Linked DNA regions of Homo sapiens: region 1 is linked to region 2. The links are contacts of gene promoters, found by promoter capture Hi-C in blood cells and fetal thymus (Javierre and others, 2016). All regions are on one chromosome and are shown on one strand. Each heading gives the region's core, a stretch centred on a gene start or on the middle of the fragment in contact. The rest is flanking DNA. Distances are from core to core; before and after follow the strand shown. Region 1 has its middle 42 kb from the start of SLC8A1-AS1. Region 2 holds the start of PKDCC (protein kinase domain containing, cytoplasmic).

What was found. Contacts are between HindIII fragments. The CHiCAGO score rates a contact against its expected background, and 5 or more counts as called.
Region 1: a fragment that was not itself captured here is called in contact with the fragment with the promoter of PKDCC in region 2 in 1 of 17 cell types (M1 macrophages); the score reaches 5.9 in M1 macrophages.

What each region holds. Positions count from the first base shown.
Region 1 is chr2:39,874,190-39,877,101 of GRCh38, forward strand. No RefSeq gene overlaps it. Among named protein-coding and RNA genes, the nearest start is that of SLC8A1-AS1, 42 kb to the right of the region's middle. The HindIII fragment of the contact is 216 bases long and covers 1,400-1,615 here.
Region 2 is chr2:42,046,758-42,049,826 of GRCh38, forward strand. It overlaps PKDCC (protein kinase domain containing, cytoplasmic), which reads left to right and starts at 1,264. Exons shown (of 7, transcript NM_138370.3): 1 at 1,264-2,081. The coding sequence starts at 1,443. RefSeq lists enhancers at 1-144, 145-649, 273-392, 1,893-2,152, 2,866-3,069 and silencers at 563-852, 963-1,212, 1,363-1,542, 1,553-1,652, 1,783-1,852. The HindIII fragment of the contact is 13,255 bases long and covers 1-3,069 here.

The DNA of each region.
Region 1 (2,912 bases), core at 258-2,757, 2.2 Mb before region 2:
GGGTACATACCAATCATAATGGGATGTTTTGAAGGCCAGGATGATGATACTTTGTATTTATCTATTGCTCTGCTTTTTTAAAACAAAGCAATAGTTCCCTCCTCTTCTCAATCAAATGAGGTAGGCTGGATTGTATGTTATTTGTGCTTACTTGTATGGATTGAGAAATCGAGGCTTGCAGTAGTTTAGTGACTTGCCTAAGATCGTTATTGCCTTGGATGGTGGTGAGCTGGGACTTAAACCCAGGTATTGTGACTCAAGGGTTTTTCCTCCTGTCAACACATGCTGCTTTGTGTTAACCAACTGGTCAACTCTTTTAGCCTTTTGAGCCTCCTACGGGAATAGTAAAGACAAAAAGCCATTACCTACTCAGAAAGCCGTGTTGTAGAGTTTCTTCAGAATTGTGCTGGTAGCACTGCATATCTTTTTCTATGTTAGTAATATATGTGTATATATATGTATATATATATATGTGTATATATATATATATATATATATATATATATATATATATTTTTTTTTTTTTGGAGACGAAGTCTTGCTCTTGGTCCCCAGGCTGGAGTGTGATGGCGCAATCTTGGCTCACTGCAACCTCTGCCTCCTGGGTTCAAGCGATTCTCCTGCCTCAGCCTCCTGAGTACCTGGGATTACAGGCATCTGCTACCATGCCTGGCTAAATTTTGTATTTTTAGTAGAGACGGGGTTTCACCATGTTGACCAGGCTGGTCTTGAACTCCTAACCTCAGATGATTCACCCGCCTCGGCCTCCCAAAGTGCTGGGACTGCAGGGGTGAGCCACCGAGCCTGGCCGATAGTCATAATTTAAAAAAAAAGAATAAGGATTTTTTGAAGTTGTCATTATCATAGAATTTTATTATAGGGCATTATTGTATAATTATTAATAGAAACAATTATGAAATGAAGTCATTTTAAGCACCAGACTAGGAACAGCCTAATGCTTTCTAACTCTGAGAAGGGATTTTACATTTAGAGGAAAGTTCTTTTATTTTTGTTCTTTGGTGCTCTTCTCTTCCCATGAAATTTGCATCGTAAGTGCCTGGGTGATTTCTTGGCAAGAGCTCTGCAAAGCAAAGGCCAAGTGTTCCGCTGGGAGAAGGAGAGTTAAGGAGGCAGCCCAGGACTGTTTAGACTTTGCTTAGTCATAGTTTATGAAAAGTGCATGTCTCAACCTTGGATAGTTGCAAAAGCCAAGGGAGGTAGCTCCTTGGAAGAAAAATGTCAGTTTTCAAGATTGCTTTGACAGGAGGTGCCTTGGCAACTGGGCCAAACATTTCTTAAGGACATGTGGATGCTTGGTGCATCTTGGGAAAGAAATATTTCACAGCAGACATTTGTATAATACCTTCTTTGAATTCTGAGAAAAACTGGAGACATTGAAAGCTTTTCATCTTAGGGTCCCCACAGACATGATGTCCAAATGCCAGGAATAAAGTCCTGAAGCTAAGATCAGAAAGGTCCACGGTGAGCTATAGTTAAATACGTATTGGCCCGTGATGCCATCCCAAGGGTGTTGATGGGCTAAGTCCCCAGCCAGCTTGCTGCAGACACAAAAAGAACCCCAAATGGTGTTGCCAAATCTCTTCCTCTGTGAAGAAGCTTCAGTGAAACTTGAGCTTGGTCAGTGGTTGAGGACTTTGTCAAATAAAAACAAATCTGGACTTAGGTAAGGAGAAACTTTATTCAAAGAGGCTATTGTAATAGTAAGCTCCCTAATCTCAGGATCTACAGACATCTCAAAACCAAACAGAAAAAGACATTTGTGGGATGGGGTAAGCAGGGATAGCAGGAACTTAGTAGGGGAAATTGGGCAATTAGGTGGAGGTAAACAGACAGCAAGATGGTGGTTTGACAGGTTTCTGCTGTCATCGGCCCATTCTCAGGATGGGCTATTAAGTACTGATGTTGTGTATTTTAGTGCTAGGTCAGGCTTGGAGGGAAGCCAAAGTTCAGGGATCTGTGGGGAGAAGAGAAGACTGACTGAAGTTTGGTCAAGACAAATCAGTGCATAAGACTGTGGACCACTGAGATTGTGTGGTCAGCTTGGAGATCTCTGGGAAGCTGTCATAGAAAGTCTGTCACAGCCATTCCTGAATGTAGGTCCTGAGGCTGGCTGCATCTGGGGGCTCACCAAAAACACAGAGTCCACCTCTGGGAATCTACATTGTAACAAGCTTCTCCAGATGATTCTCATGTTTACCCAAGTTTAAGAATAAATACTGCAAACAACAATCGATTTAATCAGGATACCTGATTTAGAGTGGCAGATATGCTACTTATTAGCTGGATAATTAGATAAGTCAAGTAACTATATTTAGCTTCAGCTTCCTTAACTATAAAATGGGACTATTACCTGCTTCAAAGAGGCATTGTGTGGATTATATGATGCTAACATGAAAGATTCCACCAGGAAACAGGGAAGAAAATTTTAAGCACTAACTTATTATCATAGAGTAATAATCTCCAACCAGTTGCTGTAGTTTGTTGGTTGGGTTTTGTTTCTTTTCTTTTCTTTTTCTTTTTCTTTCTTTCTTTTTTTTTTTTTTTGAGATGGAATCTTGCTCTGTCACCCAGGCTGGAGTGCAGTGCCACAATCTTGGCTCACTGCCACCTCCACCTCCCGGGTTCAAGTGATTCTCCCGCCTCAGCCTCCCAAGTAGCTGGGATTACAGGGGTACATCAGCATGCCCAGCTAATTTTTTGTATTTTTAGTAGAGATGGGGTTTCTCCATGTTGGCCAGGCTGGTCTTGAACCCCTGACCTCAAGTCATCCAGGCACCTTGGTCTCCCATAGTGTTGGGATTACAGGTGTGAGCCACAGAGACTGGGCTGTTTTCTTTTGTTTAAAAATAAATTCTCATTGGTCTATATGTCTGTTTTGGTACCAGTACCAT
Region 2 (3,069 bases), core at 14-2,513:
CTGACACTGTGAGGAGGACAGAGATTAACCTGGCCCAGAGGGAGGCAGGAAGCTGCCCAGGAAGGTGAGAGGATCTAGGTGGGCAGTTTCAGAGTGGCGGGGAAGAGGAGAGCTGCGAGGGGGAGGGGCAGCGGCTTATCTCTCCCAGGAGGGGGGAGCTCACTCCAAACAGCTAGTGCACTGGCGTGTGAAAGCCCCTCAATTAGCACTAATGATGCAATCAGGGAGGGAGGAGGAGGGACCGAAGTTCTGGTGGCGTCAGCACCAACTTACACACAAGGTACACATTCCCTTCATCGGACACAATGGCCCCTTCAGACACGCCGAGGCACACACTCCACAGACAGCCGTCCGTGGGCACAAACGCACTCTTTGCCCAAGCTACTAGCATGCACATGGTTTCTTATACGCGGCTGACCCCGTCAGACCCCAGGCATCTTGAGGGGTAGGGAGCGACCCCCAGCTGCATTTGGGGCTTTAGAGGCAAGGAAAATCAGAAACACTTTGGTAAAAGGAGTTGAACAGGGCATCCTCGGCGAGCTCACGAGCATTCCTCTATGCCTAGAGCTCCTGTCCCACGCGCGCTCGCAGGTGCTGGCCCGGCTGTGCCCGCTTCCCCCTCACCATCGCCCCAATCCGGAATCCGGGGCTGAGCGAGGAGCCGCCACCCCCGGCCCCACCCGCGAGAGACGGGGTCCACGCGCCTTCCCTGCGCCCAAACCGCCCCGAGGCCCCCAGTCCCAGGAGGGAGCGCTGAGATCACTCGGATCTCCGCACCCCGGACTTAGCTGCTCGTCCCCTCCGGAGCCCGCTACCCGCCGGCCTCGCCCCTTTATCTTTCCCCCACTCCGCCCGGCCGGCTCCGTTATCCACCTCCCAATCCCGTTATCCGGCCGCCCCGGCCCCGTTATCCGCCCTCGCGTTGGGCGCGGAGCCCCCGCGCGCCTCCTGGCCGCCGCCGCCCCCTCCCCCGCTCCCAGACGGAGCTCGGGGGACCGCGGGCTGGGCGGGACCGCGGGCTGGGCAGGACCGGAGCCGCCTCCGCGCCGCTTCCCAGGCCCGGACGGCCGCGGGAGGAGGTCCCGCTGTCAGTCAGCGGGGAAGGCCGGGCCGGGCGGCCGGAGGGGGCGGCGCCGAGGACGGGCTCGGGCCGGGAGCTGGGAGGTGGAGGCGGAGGGGCGGGGGAGGGGGCGGGGGAGGGGGCGGGGGCGGGGGCGGGGGGCGGCTCTGGGCCTTATAAGCGGCGGGGGCAGGGCGGCAGGGAGGCAAGTGTCAGGCCGATGTGTCGCCCGCGAGGGGCCGGGGTCGGGGCCGCCGGGGCCATGCGCGCGGGCTGGGCAGGGGGCCGGCGGGGCGCAGAGCGGAGCCGCCTCGGAGCCTGAGCCGCCCGGGGCCGGGGCCGGGGAGCCGCGCGGGGCCGGCCGGCCGGGGGGAGGGGAGCGATGCGGCGCCGGCGGGCGGCAGTGGCCGCGGGTTTCTGCGCCTCCTTCCTGCTGGGCTCCGTCCTCAACGTGCTCTTCGCTCCGGGCTCGGAGCCTCCGAGGCCAGGCCAGTCCCCTGAGCCTTCGCCGGCCCCGGGTCCGGGCCGTCGCGGGGGCCGCGGGGAGCTGGCCCGGCAGATCCGGGCGCGCTACGAGGAGGTGCAGCGCTATTCCCGCGGGGGCCCCGGGCCCGGGGCGGGCCGGCCGGAGCGGCGGCGCCTGATGGACCTGGCTCCGGGCGGGCCCGGCCTGCCGCGCCCCCGGCCCCCTTGGGCCCGGCCCCTGTCCGACGGCGCCCCAGGCTGGCCCCCGGCTCCCGGCCCAGGCTCCCCCGGCCCGGGCCCGCGCCTGGGCTGCGCCGCGCTTCGCAACGTGTCCGGCGCGCAGTACATGGGCTCAGGCTACACCAAGGCCGTGTACCGGGTCCGCCTGCCCGGCGGTGCCGCGGTGGCGCTCAAGGCGGTGGACTTTAGCGGCCACGATCTGGGCAGCTGCGTGCGCGAGTTCGGGGTACGGAGGGGCTGCTATCGGCTGGCGGCCCACAAGCTGCTTAAGGAGATGGTGCTGCTGGAGCGGCTGCGGCACCCCAACGTGCTGCAGGTACGAGGGTGGGGACGCGGGGGTAACGGTGTTGGCTGGGAGTGCCCAAGACCTTGTCAACCTGGCTGGAAGAGAACCCCTTGATCTGGAGTGCCAGTGACTGCACCCAGGCTAAGCTAGACGCAGAAACCGGACCATGGCCCTTCCCACTGCACCACCCTGCTTCTCACTCCTGGGTGGGCGTCCCTTTACCGGAGAACTCCTGGGTTTCTCGGCTTCCACACATCTCTTAAAGACAGGCCAGGACAGAGGCTCCCAAAACTCAGGGGGTGGGGCAGTCCATTAGGATTTAGGACTCTACTCCGGGCTGGAGTTAGGAGGTTGAACACCAGGGATATTACCCCAAGCCAAAATGACCCTAAGCCAAGACACTTGAGTCAGAATTCCAACTGTGTGATAAAGTCCCCCTTCTTGATGGAACTTCTCCCAACTTCCAGTGATTTGTCTGGTTTTGAAAATGAGACGGGACAGCAGTGGGGCTGGGAAGAGCTGGAAAGAGACCATGTGTCAGGCTTGATTCCTATAGAGTCTCCCCACCCACCCACCTCCAGCGCCACCCAGAAGACACTGGAAGGGGGCTGGGGAGCAGGCTAGAAAAAGGGAACACAGTCCTTCCCAGAAGTGAACTAAGGGTTCCCCAGGCCTTAAAGTGGGTCCTTGAGCCCCTGGAGAAGCCTGAAGGTCTCAGCTCAGTGGACAGACTGGCGGCCTGAGGATCTAAATGTCACACTGTCTGAGTGTATATAGATAGCCAAGAGGCTGGAAGGTTGAGAAGGCCAAATGCTCAGGTTCCTACTCAACGGGACTCTGCCTCGCCTGTTCACTGGAGACACAGGCGAGAGCTGAAACCCCCACCTTGTCCCCTCCAAGCTAGACTTTGAGTGGGCCTCTCACAGTCCCAGCACCGCCCTAACACTCCACGTCCTCTCTCTCAGGTCTCCCCCCATCCTAAGATTAGACAGACTATTCCCTTTGCACATGTCTGAGC